Regions from separate parts of the Homo sapiens genome. Here regions 2 and 3 are each linked to region 1. The links are contacts of gene promoters, found by promoter capture Hi-C in blood cells and fetal thymus (Javierre and others, 2016). All regions are on one chromosome and are shown on one strand. Each heading gives the region's core, a stretch centred on a gene start or on the middle of the fragment in contact. The rest is flanking DNA. Distances are from core to core; before and after follow the strand shown. Region 1 holds the start of ZFYVE9 (zinc finger FYVE-type containing 9). Region 2 has its middle 17 kb from the start of COA7. Region 3 overlaps SHISAL2A (shisa like 2A).

The links. The method cuts DNA at HindIII sites, captures the fragments that hold promoters and counts their contacts. A CHiCAGO score of 5 or more calls a contact.
Region 2: a fragment that was not itself captured here is called in contact with the fragment with the promoter of ZFYVE9 in region 1 in 1 of 17 cell types (fetal thymus); the score reaches 5.1 in fetal thymus.
Region 3: a contact is called between a fragment that was not itself captured here and the fragment with the promoter of ZFYVE9 in region 1, in 1 of 17 cell types (M2 macrophages). The highest score is 8.2, in M2 macrophages.

Annotation. Positions count from the first base shown.
Region 1 is chr1:52,139,589-52,144,567 of GRCh38, reverse strand. It overlaps ZFYVE9 (zinc finger FYVE-type containing 9), which reads right to left and starts at 2,479. Exons shown (of 19, transcript NM_004799.4): 1 at 2,165-2,479. It overlaps LOC107984956 (collagen alpha-2(I) chain-like), which reads right to left and starts at 4,849. Exons shown (of 5, transcript XM_047439476.1): 1 at 4,768-4,849; 2 at 3,279-3,375; 3 at 3,087-3,133; 4 at 2,165-2,791. The coding sequence starts at 4,849. RefSeq lists a silencer at 1,820-2,679. The HindIII fragment of the contact is 13,456 bases long and covers 1,790-4,979 here.
Region 2 is chr1:52,678,923-52,683,901 of GRCh38, reverse strand. No RefSeq gene overlaps it. Among named protein-coding and RNA genes, the nearest start is that of COA7, 17 kb to the left of the region's middle. The HindIII fragment of the contact is 5,380 bases long and covers 1-4,979 here.
Region 3 is chr1:52,655,860-52,660,838 of GRCh38, reverse strand. It overlaps SHISAL2A (shisa like 2A), which reads right to left. Exons shown (of 3, transcript NM_001042693.3): 3 at 3,774-4,049. The coding sequence ends at 3,799. Among named protein-coding and RNA genes, the nearest start is that of SHISAL2A, 25 kb to the right of the region's middle. The HindIII fragment of the contact is 3,818 bases long and covers 676-4,493 here.

The sequences.
Region 1 (4,979 bases), core at 1,230-3,729:
GGCTCAGCAAGGTTAGTTAATTTTAAACTTACTGTATCAGTGATTCTCAAACTTTAGTAGGTCTAAGAATCAGGGAGACTGATAAAAATAAAGTTCTTTGGGCCATCGTCATCCCTAGAATTTCAATTCAAGGGACCAAGAATCTGCATATTACATATAATACTTATATATATAACAAGCACTCTCAACTGATTCTAATGTTGGTGGTCTTGAGGGACACACTGAGAACTGTATTCAACTTTTTTTTTTTGAGATGGAGTCTCGCTCTGTTGCCCAGGCTAGAGTCAGTGGCCCAATCTTGGCTCACTGCAACGTCTGCCTCCCAGGTTCAAATGATTCTTGTGCCTCAGCCTCCCGAGTAGCTGGGGCTACAGGTGGGCACCACCATGCCAGCTAATTTTTGTATTTTTAGTAGAGACGGGGTTTCACCATATTGACCAGGCTGGTCTTGAACTTCTGACCTCATGATCCACCCGCCTCGGAGAGGGGCATCTTGCTTACGTTGCCCAAGCAGGACTGGAACTCCTAGGATCAAGGGGTCCTCCCCATTCAGCCTCCCTAGTAGGCCTAGCCATCACACTTTGCCTGAATTAGACTTTTAAAAATCGAGATTAACCTACCCAAATAACTGGTAATGAAGCCAATTTTTAAAAGAAATACTTAAAATCTGACAAAAACAATGCAAGGCTACAGCATCTAACACAGTAGGTCTTCAAAAACGTGTACCATGCCAAACTTTCTCCCTAGATGGAGACCCCATGCTGCATAGAAGGTTAAGTCAGGGATCTTTTAGGTAGTTACCCATATTCTTCTGTTTTAATTGATGAATTCAACATGGTTCCAATGTAATTTAGTAAAATATTTTTACAGGTCTTATACAAATGACAATGTAAAATGGAACAGTCAGATAATTTTAAACCTAATATACAGAAATAATAATTTTAAAAATCACTGTCAGTACGAGCCCATTATAAACCTGTACTGTTTACAATCTGTGAGATTATGGGTGATTTCTCCTATTATTAAATATTTATTAAGAGCCAACATGGTACCTTTCTATAATTCCCAAGTTTTCTACAATAAGCATATTTTTTCATGATTATAAAAGTTTTGCAAGTACCTATAAGTCTTATAACTTTCACATACATAACAGGAAAACAAGAATAACCTGTAATCACATTTCTCACAAAACATAAATATCTGACTTACGGTATCAAACTGTAATCAGTAGCATTTTCAACATTAATATCAGAACAAATCATTTTATTTCTAAAATTTAGCATGTATCCCATTTCCTTCAGGTATTTATTAGGGTAGCTGGCACTTAAAGAGGACTTAAAATCCTTTTGCCAACTATTCTCTGGATCTCTTTAAGTGGAACATTTTTGTACCGAACACTGAAGCATAAAAATATTTCTTCTGGCGGGGTGTGGGGGGCAGACCTTTGTAAAAGACGTTTTTATAACTGTGAGTGTTTATCTACAAAACTTAGCATCGCAAAGATGCGATGGGGCTTTCTCCAAGGCAGACCACGCTTAGAGGCAAGATATAATATAAAGAGGCAGGAATGAGCAACCGGCAGGTGATGAAATTTCACCTCAAATAAGACGCAAAAGGTTGTTCTCGAGCAAGCCAGATCCATGAATGACACTCCAGGAGTAGCAGGGGCTCTCTTGGTCCCGCACTCTCTGCACCCCCAATTCTCACCCTGGCCTTCCTCTCCTCCCCCTTTCCCCGCCACAACCGGGATTCTGAGGGACTCGGTATGGGACGCGTGGAAGCCAAAGCTTGTTTGCAAACAGGCGTCATCTGCCTCCCTCCGGGATGTACGTGCAGGGCCCGGGCTAAGAGGCTGCGCTCGGCCCGGGCCCATGCAAACCCGAAAGGCGGCCGTGCTCCTGCCGGCCCCCAGCTCCACACACCCGGCCGCGCCGGAACCGAGGCCGGAGCGAGGGCTTCCCAACGGCGCGGGGCCTAATCGCCCCCCACGGCCTTCAGCCTCCCGGGGGACGCGGGGAGAAAGGGCTGAGGCCCCAGGACCGCAGGGTGGGGGAGGCGACCGCAGTGGCAGGACGCCCCGTCCGCCCGGCCCGCGGTCTGCCGCCAGGGCCCCCACAGGCGGCGGGAGGCCGGCGAGCCCCGGACCACGCCGCGCCACACTCACCTCGAGCAGCGGCCGCCTCCGCTTCAGCATGGCCACGGGGGTCGTCCCTGAGCCGAAAGCCTCCTCCGGAGGGCACCGGCGCGGCCCCAGGCGCCGCCGCGAAACCTCCCACTCCTGTAGGAGCTGCGGTAGCCGCAGCTGCGGCTGCTACTGCTGCTAAGGCCCGGCACCCGCCCAGCCGCATCGGCGCCCGGGCCGCGGCAGCCACGCGGATCCCGGAGGAGCGCCGCCGAGCCGGGCCGGGGGCGCAAGGCTGCGGCGGGACGACCGAGGTGCGGCAGGCGGGGATCCTCAGCGAAGCCTCCAGCGTCGGGTGGCCGCTCCTGCCGCCGGCGCCGCTGGGCCACAGCGCCCCCTGGACCCCACGTCCGGCTACGGCGTCGGGACTGCGGCGGCCGCGCTGGGCACGAGCCGCAGGGAACGCTAAGGAGCGCGGCCTGGGGGCGGCGAGGGCCCCGTGCTCCCTGCGTAGCCCGCGGCCCGCGGCCGGCCCGGGACTCCGCTTCCCGGGAACCGGAAGCCCCTCAGTTCCCACCAACCCCTGGCGTTCCCCGCCCCCGCCAGACCCGAGCACCTTTTCGTTCTCTCCCGAAGATACGTGAACGTTCTTGTCACTCGGACCCGCACCTGAGAGCAGGAATATAAGGGAATCTCCGTTTGACTCTCACGGTTTCGGGGGTGGCAGGGAGACCCCCTTCTAATTCCTTTAATGCGTCTGGATGAAAGAAGAGTGACCCAGAACAAACCTTTTTTTCAAACATACACACTCGTCTCCCAAAACAGACGAAGGAATTGTCTTTGACCTTAACTTGTTTTTTTATCTACTGTGTAGATCATTAAGAAATTTTCTACAGATATCAACCAAACCCTTAACACCTAAACCACCACCCCCACAAAACAAAAATGAAAAAAAAATACATACATATATATATATGCCAAGCCAGAGAAGAGAATAGCCAACGGGTTGTCCTGAAATTCATAAACAACTTAAAGGTAAGCAAAGAATCACCCATCTTTTACTAACATCCTCTCCCTCCCAACCTCTTCTCTCCCACCTTTCCACCCCTCATCCCAGGCAAATCCTAGTAAGGCTCTGAAGGAAGGAAATTATTACACAGTGGGGGCTATGGAATCATTCTGTTTACAGATGCCCCATATTTGATCCCAGTCAGCCTCTAGGGTGCAAACATCAGAACCAAAAACAAACACGACTGTCAGAGGGGAAGTAGGGAAAGAAAATTCTCCAAATCCTCTGATCCCTAAATTTTCCAAATACACTTTTTTAACAGAGTGGTATACTAGAATGTGTAGTGATTTTGGTGTCAGACACATACCAACACTACCAGTTCCAGTTCTGTCATGTATATATAGCTTTATGACCCTGGGGAAGTTATGTAACATTTTTGAACTTCAGTTTTCTCCTGCCTGCCTTGCTGGTTGTTGAAGATTGGAGATAAAGAGACTGGCCCATAGAAGATACTTAATAAATGTTAGTTACAATTTTTATTGGTTCCAGTTCTTTTTCTTAGGCTCAATTTTGTACTCCTCTGTTTTTGTTTCTCATTCTCTCTCTCTCTCTCTCTCTCTCTGTGTGTGTGTATGTGTGTGTGTATGTGTGTGTGTAACTGTATTTCTGTCAAAAGATAGATGCTCCATTCTTCATCCTCCCTAGTCTGGGTGAAATTTCCCTAAATTTCACTAATGGGTTTATGTAACACCCCTCCATGGAAGAATAGAGCCTCATACACTGGATCCTATGACATTCTGTTGCACAGCAGATAGCAGCATGCAACCAGTATTTTTTATGTATAAAAAATGTTATAAGGCAATCTCACCTTACCTTAGGTTATGGCCTAATGATGATAAATAATAGAAACTACAAAAGGTCTCCAGGAATCATTCATTTAATAATTGAGCAGCCACCATGGAGAAGATGTCACCTAGTAGCTCTCTTAATGAAAGCTGTTCCTGCATAATCCTAAGTGTGCCTTTGCCACATACTCCTGAGTCACAAAAAAATCACTATGCCCTTTCTATAACAAGAGAAACTGGGGCTCAAAGGGAAACCATGATTCATCCTCGCAGTGATTCTATGAGTTAGGTCCTATGCTACCATTTTACATGTGAAATATATCCAACCTAAGGAAGAGCTGGAAGTAGACCCTGAGATTCCCTTCAGTCCCCAACCTGATGCCCCAACAGTCCTTTCAACAATATTAACAAAATGCTGTAAGGGTCATTTGTTGCTAAAAAATGTTTAGTCAAGGGAAAAGGGCCCTTCAACTGATTGAGATCATTAGCGCTGTAACCTAATATTAGCACTGTATTTTTCATGCCTAGATCACTGCCACCACAGGAAACCTGCATTTGTTTATGAATAATCATGCAACCCAGGGCATAGCTACTACATGAAGAAGATGATTCATTTGTTCCCAAGACCAGTTTCCTCTTGCTTCACACTTTCTCTCCTTGTTGCTGAAAGCAGCTGCCTTTATCATCACAACCTCCCCGCTGATCGGAGTAGTCCACTTTAAATCATTTCATCCTCTTCAATTTCATTCCATCGTTTTCAGTTTGCCCTCTGCTTCTAAAATGTCTCTCACCTGTTTTCCTCTCTTGTACTGTAAATCTCTTGTTCATTTTAATCTCCCTTGGGCTTCTGTCAATTGATTTGGCTACCCTCATCTCAATTTTTCATTGATTTCCCCTATTAGCTAGCAACCGTAAAATGTCTATTCCCAACCTGGTAGACCTCCCCACTTTCATTTTTATACTGTCTACATCCTGTAGAAAGCCAATATTCTAAGAATCTTTT
Region 2 (4,979 bases), core at 1,189-3,688, 540 kb before region 1:
CAAAAGAATTGAAAGCAGGGTCTCCAAGAGGTATCTATACCCATATTCTTAGCAGCACTATTCATAGTAACCAAAGGGTAGAAGGAACCCAAATGCCCATCAGCAGATGAATGAATACACAAAAGGCGAGATGTACATGCAATGGAATATTATTCAGCCTTGAAAAGGAAGGAAATTCTGACACATGCCACAAAACATGGCTGAATCTTGAGGACATCGTGCTAAGAGAGTCACAAAAAGACATGCTGTATAAGCCAGTCACAAAAAGACATGCTGTATATGAGGCATCTAAACTTGGGTATGAGTTGTATATAAACTCAGAAACAGAAAGTAAAATGGTGGCTGCCAGGGGCTGGGGTGAGGAGGAAATGAGTTTTTTGTTTTTGTTTTTGTTTTGAGATAGGCTCTTGCTCTGTCGCCTAGGCTGGAGTGCAGTGGCACTATCATAGCTCACTGCAGCCTCTAACTCCTGGGCTCAGGTCATCCTTCCACCTCAGCTTCCCAAGTAGCTGGGACTACAGGTACACACCACCACGCCCAGCTAGTTTTTGTATTTTTTGTAGAGACGAGGTTTTGCCATATTGCCCAGGCTGGTCTTAAACTCCTGAGCTCAAGTGATCTTTCCGCCTCGGCCTCCCAAAGTTCTGGGATTATAGGTGTGAGCCACCATGCCTGGCCAAAATGGGTTGTTTAATAGGTAAAGAGTTTCAAATTTGTAAGATGAAAAAATAATGGAGATTGTTACACATCAAATGTGAATATACTTAACACTACTGAACTATATGTTTAAAAATGGTTAACCCAGCCTGGCTTACATGGTGAAACCCTCTCTCTACTAAAGATACAAAAATTAGCTGGGCGTGGTGGCATGCGCCTGTAGTCCCAACGACTCAGGAGGCTGAGGCACGAGAATCACTTGAACCTGGGAGGTGGAGGTTGCAGTGAGCTGAGATTGCACCACTTCACTCCAGCCTAGGCAACAGAGTGAGACTCCATCTCAAAAAAAAAAAAAAAAAAAAAAAAAAAAGAGGTTAACATGGTAAATTTTATGTTTTACCACAATTTAAAAAAAAAACATATTGACTTTTTAAAAATGCAAGGTTTGAAGTTTTTTTATTATAAAATTAGTATGTTCTCATAAAATGCAATTTGAAACAGAAGAAACCATCACCCCTCACTATTCTTTTATCACCTATGGGCATTCTTTGGCACAATAGCGTTCTCACTATTTAACCATTTTTTTAAAGAATCATATCTTTTTTTTTTTTTTTTTTTTTTTGAGATGGTGTCACCCAGGCTGGAGTGCAGTGACGTGATCTCAGCTCACTGCAACCTCCACCTCCCAGGTTCAAGTGATTCCCCAGCCTCAGCCTCTTGAGTAGCTGGGACTACAGGCGAGCGCCACCACAGCCGGCTATTTTTTGTATTTTTAGTAGAAATGGGGTTTCACCATGTTGATCAGGCTGGTCTCTAACTCCTGACCTCAGCTGATCCACCCACCTTGGCCTCCCAAAGTGCTAGGATTACAGGCATGAGCCACTGTGCCCTGCCAAGAATCATATCTTTTCAACTAACAGGTTTTGTAATTTTTTTTTTTCTTTTTGAGATAGGGTCTCTCTGTGTCACCTAGGCTGGAGTGCAGTGGTGCAATCATAGCTCACTGCAGCCTCAACCTCCTGGGCTCAGGTGATCCTCCTACCTCAGTCTCCCAAGTAGCTAGGGACTACATGTGCGTGACACCATGCCCAGTTAGTTTTCATGTTTTTTGTAGATATGGGGTCTCGCTGTGTTGCCCAGGCTGGTCTCAAACTCCTGGGCTCAAGCGATCCTCCTGCCTCAGCCTCCCAACATGCTAGGATTACAGACATGAGCCACTTGCCCCACTGGGTTTTGTAATTTTGAAGAACTAAGTTTGATTTTTGGGTGGCAGATGTACTGGATTTTTTTTTTGAGATGGAACTTCACTCTTGTTGCCCAGGCTGGAGTGCAATGGCATGATCTCAGCTCACCGCAACCTCCGCCTCCCGGGTGCAAGCAATTCTCCTGCCTCAGCCTCCTGAGTAGCTGGGATTACAGGCATGTGCTACCACACCCGGCTAATTTTGTATTTTTAGTAGAGACAGGGTTTCTCCATGTTGGCCAGGCTGGTCTCGAACTCCCGACCTCAGATGATCCACCTGTCTCGGCCTCCCAAAGTGCTGGGATTACAGGCGTGAGCCACTACACCCAGCCTTTTTTTTTTTTTTTATGGACGAGTTCCTACCTGGGACTTCTGGTACTTGCCTTCCTGAGTCACATACTTAGTGGGGCAGGGAACAATAGAGTGAGCATTAACTGTGTCAAAATGTTATATTTCCCTAAAGTTATTAAAATGCAAAGAATAATAATTTACTGTTCAGAATGGTCCAAGGCCATTTCATACCCAGGCTACTGTGGGAAGCAGTAGGTTGGTAAGAGCCAGCATGGATAAGTTTCTCACTTTAATGCAGCCTTTGAGGCAAGGTTTGAAAATCGCTTTTCAGACTCTGGTCACAGCAAGCAGTATCATTACTGTGTCTTCTAGCCAGCAGGCATTGGATCATCATTAACAACTATTTCCTACGTTTTTCCTCCATGCTAGGCTTGGGCTGGATACAGGACATTCAGAGCTGGCCTGATGGTCTGTCTAATGGGAAAGACGGTTCATAATTGACTCTGGCGGTTTGTGTTCTCACTAAAATCTTTTTTTTTTTTTTTGAGACACAGTCTCACTCTGTTGCCCAGGCTGGAGTGCAGTGGTGCGATCTTGGCTCACTGCAACCTCTGCCTCCCGGGTTTGAGAGATTCTCCTGCCTCAGGCTCCTGAGTAGCTGGGATTACAGGCCACCACGCCCAGCTAATTTTTGTATTTTTTAGTAGAGATGGGTTTCACCATTTCACTATGTTGGCCAGGCTGGTCTTGAACTTCCAACCTCAGATGATCTGCCTGCCTCTCCCTCCCAAAGTGCTGGGATTACAGGCGTGAACCGCTCTGCCCGGCCAATGCTCTCACTAAAATCTGACAGTATGGTGCTCAGTACTGTGAGGAAGGAAAGGAAGAGTCCCAGAGAGGGAAGGGAAAACCTGAGGGTATAGAGATTTGGCTTTTATCTTGTGGGTAATGCAGAGTCACGAAAGGGTTTTGATCAGGTTTGGAAATTAGAAAGATCATCCCCAGTGCAGAAAATGAATCACGGGGGAAAGACTGGAGGCAGGAAGACCAATGAGGAGATGGCTGCAGATGTCAAGGTGAGACATGGTGGGGCCTGAGCTAAGGCCTGTCAAGCAAGGAAGGGAGCACAGGTGAGAGGCCAGACAGCTGAATAAGCAAAATTGAGCCATGCGGGGGTGGGAAGAAGGTGGGGTTGAGCATGAGGTTGAAAAATATAAACCAAAACAGGTTTAGCTTGGGCATCTAGGTGGACAGTGGAGCTATTCATATTGATTTGGAGCCTGTGGTGTGGGGATGGGGACAAGAACTCTGAACTGTTGGGTGATTTTTTAAGTTTTATAAATAAATAGCATTTTTATTTGTTTTATGAAGTTGCTTGAAAAATTGTATGAAGGGCAGCGTGGCAGAGGGAAAATGCCTAGACTTCAGATCCTACAGATGTGGACAATTCTGGATTAGTCAAAGGCAGAATACGCATGTATATTTAGGACACCTAACAAAGAATGAGAAATATATACATTTAAAAATAGTAATGTTATATTCCTTTTTTTTTTTTTTTTTGAGACAGAGTCTCGCTCTGTCACCCAGGCTGGAGTGCAGTGGCTCGATCTTGGCTCACTGCAAGCTGCAAGCTCCGCCTCCCATTCTCCTGCCTCAGCCTCCCGAGTAGCTGGGACTACAGGCTCCCGCTACCATGCCTGGCTAATTTTTTGTATTTTTTTTTAGTGGAGATGGGGTTTCACCGTGTTAGCCAGGATGGTCTCGATCTCCTGACCTCGTGATCTGCCTGCCTCAGCCTCCCAAAGTGCTGGGATTACAGGCGTGAGCCACCGCTCTTGGCCTACATTTCTTTTAAAGCATCAAGTAATCACTTTGTGGGGGGAATGAAGACTTTTTTGGGTTCTTTATGTTCATTTTGCAGTTTAGATCTCTTTTATTGTGAATTCTATATTAGGGTTGGTGGGGGCGGGGTGTACCAGACTATTTTCAGTTCTTAGGTCTAAAGGTCTTAGCCTGGGTTCTGACCTGAGTTTTGCTTTTTATTGGCTGTGTGACCTTAGACAAGTTACTCTACCCTCTTTTCGGATTTTGTCACCTCTCAGGTGGGGATAACAATGTCTTCTAGTAGGGTTGTTAGGAGGAGTAAATAGTAACTCTTATCGTAGAATGATAAATGCTGATTTAAAAAGACTTTTGTGGAATGAAATCTTACAATTAGATAATTGTCTTTTTTCTGAGTGGTATTGTTACCTTGTGAGGGAGTCTAGCTTTTAAAACAGCCTGCCTTTGCTGCCATTCTTTGAATATCCAGGGAGCTGACGGTGAGGCTCTCCAGGGGTACTGATGGCACAAAACAGCTGCAGGGGGCATGCCTGGGGCAGGGGAAAAGTAGGGGGCTGCCCCTACTTTTTCCCTTCTCCACTGCCTGAGCACAGAGTCACTGAGAAGACTTGCACCTGCTGGGGGCCCAGAGTGGAAACTATTCCCAGCTGGTGCCCCTCCCCAGGCTTGAGGAATGGTGATTGTATTACAGTTTATAAATCAGGCCTCCCCACTGTCTAAAGGGGAAAGGCCAAAATTCTTTGCCCAGTGTGTCTCCCCACTCCCATGAGATGATCCCTGCCTCCATATTTAGCCCCATCTTATTCCTAACTCAGGCATCTTTGCATCAGGGAACTGCTTGTGGTCTCTGCACCACCTGCCCCACCCCCAAAATATCCCTATCTCTCTCTCTCTCTCACACACACACACACACACACAGAGAGAAATTAAGTGGTGATGGATGCGT
Region 3 (4,979 bases), core at 1,335-3,834, 520 kb before region 1:
CCTCATTTAGCCAAGATTCTGGCAGAAAATCATTGTCAATCAATGTTGAATGGACAAACAAATGTGAACGTCTGAGAAAAAAACACCTAGCAGGATAGCTGTAAAGGGGAGTGGAATGTTCTAACGTTTCCAAGTTCCAAGATTCAACATTCTCTAATTCTGGGCTGAAGATTCACTCCCCTCCATCCGAAGCCCACTCTCCAGCTAGCTCCTCCGCCCTGTGCCCTCTGAGTGTTTGTTCTCAGGCAGGCACACACACATGTTCTGAACATAACCGGGAAAGCAATTTACAAGAAATAATTGCCGGTCGATGTGTGCTTGGGAACAGCGGTGAGCTCAGACTATTTCTGTCTGCGTATCAGCCCACCCAGCATCCTCCCACTGCGGCTGCCCTGGGGGAGGGGCTCCTATCACACAGGGTGGGCAGTTTGTTTCTAATGCAGGACCCAGACTAGCCAACCCCAGTGACAGCCGGCTCTGAGCCTTGATTGAATTCAAAGGAGAGGAGCTGTTGGGGGGCAGGGAGGGGCTTTATGAGGCCTAGGATGTGTAGGTCAGCAAAAGCAGCATGTACATTCCCTTTCTCCAACTGTTGGGGAAATTCTACCAGGTCTTCAGGGCCTTGCTCAGTGTGCGGTCTCCCCCACATCTCTCTGGCTCGGAGTCCTCAAAGCTTGTTTTTGTTCTTGCAGAGGCTGTTGTGCTCAAAGGGTGGTCTCAGACCAGCATCATCAGCATCACCTGGAATTTGTTAGAAATGCAAATTCTGGGGACTTACTCCTGACCTACTGAGTCAGACACTGGGGTAGGAGGCCAGCATTCTGTGTTTTAACAAGCCCTCCACACAGCTGATTCTGATGCAGCCTCGAGTTTGAGAACCACTGCCTTAGGCCGCGGATGACCACTTTAGCGTTTGGAATGCACACAGCATCTCCCCCTTCTGACTGCTAGCAGCCTAAAGGCAAGGGCATTATCAGATTCTTTCCTGAAACCTCCCAGTCTCCCTTGAAAGTGTTCAGAGAAAAGTTGGATTTTTCTGATGAGGATACCAAGGACAGAGAAGGAATTCGTCCTGTGAAGGGTCGCACAGAGCGTCAGGGACTAAACATCCCAATATCACCCAGCCCCACCACATATATACAAGTACCCTAAGCTCTTTCTATAACAAATAACTTGCAGGTCCTGGGCCACACTGGCTCGCTCTCACTATTGTGAACAAGCTGTATTCTGACCATAATGTTTTCTGTTCCTGTCTCACCTGGAAACTTTGAGTCATCTTTGATGATTCAGCTCAGACATCATTTCTTCCTCCCTAAAGCCCCATGAAGGGCCACCACTGGGCCTCCTGGCCATTTGTGTGCCTGCCTTGTCCTCCATGTGAGCCCCTTGAGGGTGAGAACTGTCTGATTCCTCTTGTTTGTGGCAACCTGCACAGGTCCTAGAATAGAATGGATACCACTAAGTGTGCAGTAAATGGACAAGGGTGCTGGGTTTTAAGTGCTGAAAATAGGCTGGGTGCAGTGGCTCACACCTGTAATCCCAACACGTTCAAGGCTAGCCTAGGCAACATAGCAACCACCCGTCTCGATAAAAAAAAAATTTAAAAATTAGCTGGACACAGTGGCACGCACCTGTAGTCACAGTTGCTTGGGAGGCTGAGGCAGAAGGATTGCTTGTGTCAGGAGTTTGAGGTTGCAGTGAGCTATGATCTCCACTGCACTCCAGCCTGGTGACAGAATGAGACTGTCTCAAAAAAAAAATGCTGAAATAAAAGAGCACACACACACACACACACACCACCACCACCACCACCACCAACAACAACAAATGAAGCAAGACCAGAACCAAAATCTCTTGACTTCCAGCCTAGAACACTTCTGTGGGTGACTCACCCTGTCTTGCCACCCCATCATGTACCCTTTGGCTGGCCTCAGGCACAGGTATCTAAGAGTGACTCTTTCACTGTTGCCAAATCCAGCAGCAGGTCATGTCACTGTCTGAAATGTCAAGAGCTGCTTTTGGTGGCTGCTGAGCTGCGTCTCCACAGTCCTTGTCTTGCATTCCGAAGGCGAAGCCTAAAAGCCATCGCCAAAGTTAGGAGAGCAGCCAGGAGGGAGGGCTGACAGTCAGCATCTTGCCCTAAGATTCCTTTGCGATCAGATTAATAATAAGACATGTTAAAAATAATAATAATAGCTAACACATAGTGCTTTCCATTTGCCAACACTTTTCTATGTACTTGCATGGACTTAGTAATTTAGTCCTTCCCCAAGCCCTATTAGAAGATACTACTAAGATTCCAGCTTATATAGATGAGAGGACTGAGGCACAGAGGTTACCTAGCAAGTAAGTGACAGGGGCAGGATTTTAACCAGGCATTTGGCTCCAGAGTTGTTCAGTATTACATAGTTTACTGTTATTGTCCATTTGTAATTTAAAAAGTCTTTTAGCAGGAATACTATGTTATCATCCATTGGTCATTTAAAAAGTCTTTTAACAGGCCAGGTGTGGTGGCTCACATCTGTAATCCCAGCACTTTGGGAGGCCAAGGCAGGCGGATCACTTGAGGTCAGGAGTTCAAGACCAGCCTGGCCAACATGGTGAAACCCCGTCTCCACTAAAAATACAAAAATTAGCCAGGCATGGTGGCACACACCTGTAGTCCCAATTACTTGGGAGGCTGAGGTGGGAGGATCACTTGAACCCGGAAGGCGGAGGTTGCACTGAGCTGAGATCATGCCATTGCACTCTAGCCTAAGTGACAGAGCAAAACTCCGTCTCAAAAAAAAAAAAAGTCTTCTAGTAATTTAATGTTTACGAAGTGAGTTCAAATCCATCACCTCATTGAACACTTGCAATAACCCAGCAAGGGGACTGAGGCTCAGGAAGACAAGGGACTTTATCAAGGCCACACAGTGGCAGAGTCCACCCTCTGGAGCCTGTATTCAGTCTGATAACCATTCATTCATTCATTCATTCTTCTTCTTTTTTTGTGATGAGGTCTTGCCCAGGCTGGAGTGCAGTGGTGTGATCATAGCTCACTGCAGCCTCGACCTCCAGGGCTCAACTGATTCTCCTGCTTCAGCCTCCCAAGTAGCTGCAACTACAGGTATAAGCCACCACATGTGGCTAATTTTTAAATTTTTTGTAGAGTCTGGGTCTCACTGTGTTGCCCAAGCTGGTCTTGAATAAGTGGGCTCAAGTGATCCATCCACCTTGTCCTCCCAAAGCTCTAGGACTACAGGCGTGAACTGCCGCGCCCTGCCCCTATTCATTCTCTCACTTAGCACTCACTCCTTCATCTACCTAAGAAATAGAATGACGCCTGAGCCCTGTGCACAACATACTCCCTCTCTATCCGTCCCTCTGCAAGGGGCTTACTCCAGGATGGCGCACTCCAGGGTGAGGCAGAGCTGCTGAAGAGGCAGAGATCATCCCCCTCTGAGGGCTAATCATCTTCTCAGGGGCTCCTAAATACACCTACTGTGGGGCAGGAAAACCATGTCAGAGTTCTCTGACTTCCCAGTTGGGTGAGGGGCTCCTCTGTGCCTTCACAGGCCCCAGGCTTCCACCCGATTGCATGGAGTTGTTACTGACCATTTTTCCTAGGAGTCATGTCAAAGTTCTTTGGCCCACAATAGGCCAAGCAGAACAGTATGGCAGGGTCCACAGCAGGGCTGGGTATCTTTGCTGGGAGAAGCCCTCATTTATCATGCTAGGCTCTAAAGTCCTTTCCCACTCCCACCTTTCACTGAAGAGACTCCAGAAGGGGATGGTATGGAGACATTTATTGAATGTTTATGGGACTGGTCCACATAGGTCAGGGTTGGGTACAGAGGCTTCCTCAGGGCTGCCTGGAATGTCACTGGTGGTCACTGTGGCCATGAAGCAATGATGGAGGAGGCGTTTGGAGTTCACAGCCTGCCCCTCATTGCTCTCCAGCTGCGGGTTCAAGCAGGAGTAACTCTGCTGGAGAGGGCTCACTTTTGGCACTTCTGCCGCCATGCCTGTGTTCACACCTTGGCAGTCAGGAGAAACCTCCTCAGGGCCTGGAAAACAGCAAACTGAGGGTGTGTGGCTCTCTTCTTCCCCAACAGGATCACACTCCCCAGCTGACTTCTCTGGTGCTTACCTTGGGCAGTGCACTGTGGTCAGAGCCTTAGAAGCATCATTTGTTTAACATGTATTTATTAACAATACACCACATTATGCACTGAGAGCTGTCAGTGTTGCTCATGAACTTGTAGTTTGGTGGAGGAAACAGATAAGAAACAATTGTTAAGAGCTATGAAGACTTGACCTTCACCATAACCCTATGAGGTAGGTACTATTAGAAATCCATTTTATAGATGAGAACACAGGATTACCATACAGCTAGTATGGAGAAGAGTGGTGGACATTTTTAAAACATAGATTGTTCTCGCTTTGAGAATAGATTCCATGCTTCTCTTTGCTGAGTGACTTATCTTCTCTCTTCCTCTTAAATCAAAGCTTGAAAGGAAGTCCACTTGGCCTTATTATTCTCTACCTTCCATTCATGACTTGTTCAGCTGCAACTTACTTTGTTCTGCCCCCACTATACCTTCAAACTATTTGTCACTAAACCCATAGTCACTTCTAAATCCTTATCTCCCTTATCAGGAACATTTAACATTATTTATTTATTTTAAATTTTACTTTACCAGTTATAGGACTCTGATTCTTTTTTCCTTTTTCTTTTTTTAATCAGGAGCATTTGACACAATTGAACATTTCTGTCTTTCTAGATAAAAAAATGTATCAAGTGTTTAAGCCAAAAATTCGAGTCATCTCTCACACCTTCTACCTCGGCCCTTTCACAAAGCCAGGTCCTGCTGGTTCCACCTAATAGTCATCTGTGGTATCCACCCATTTCTCTCCATCCTCAAGGCTACCACCTTAGATCAGGCTTTCATCTTCTTCTGCCCAGACCCCTGGAACGGCCTCCAGTGGGGGCCCCT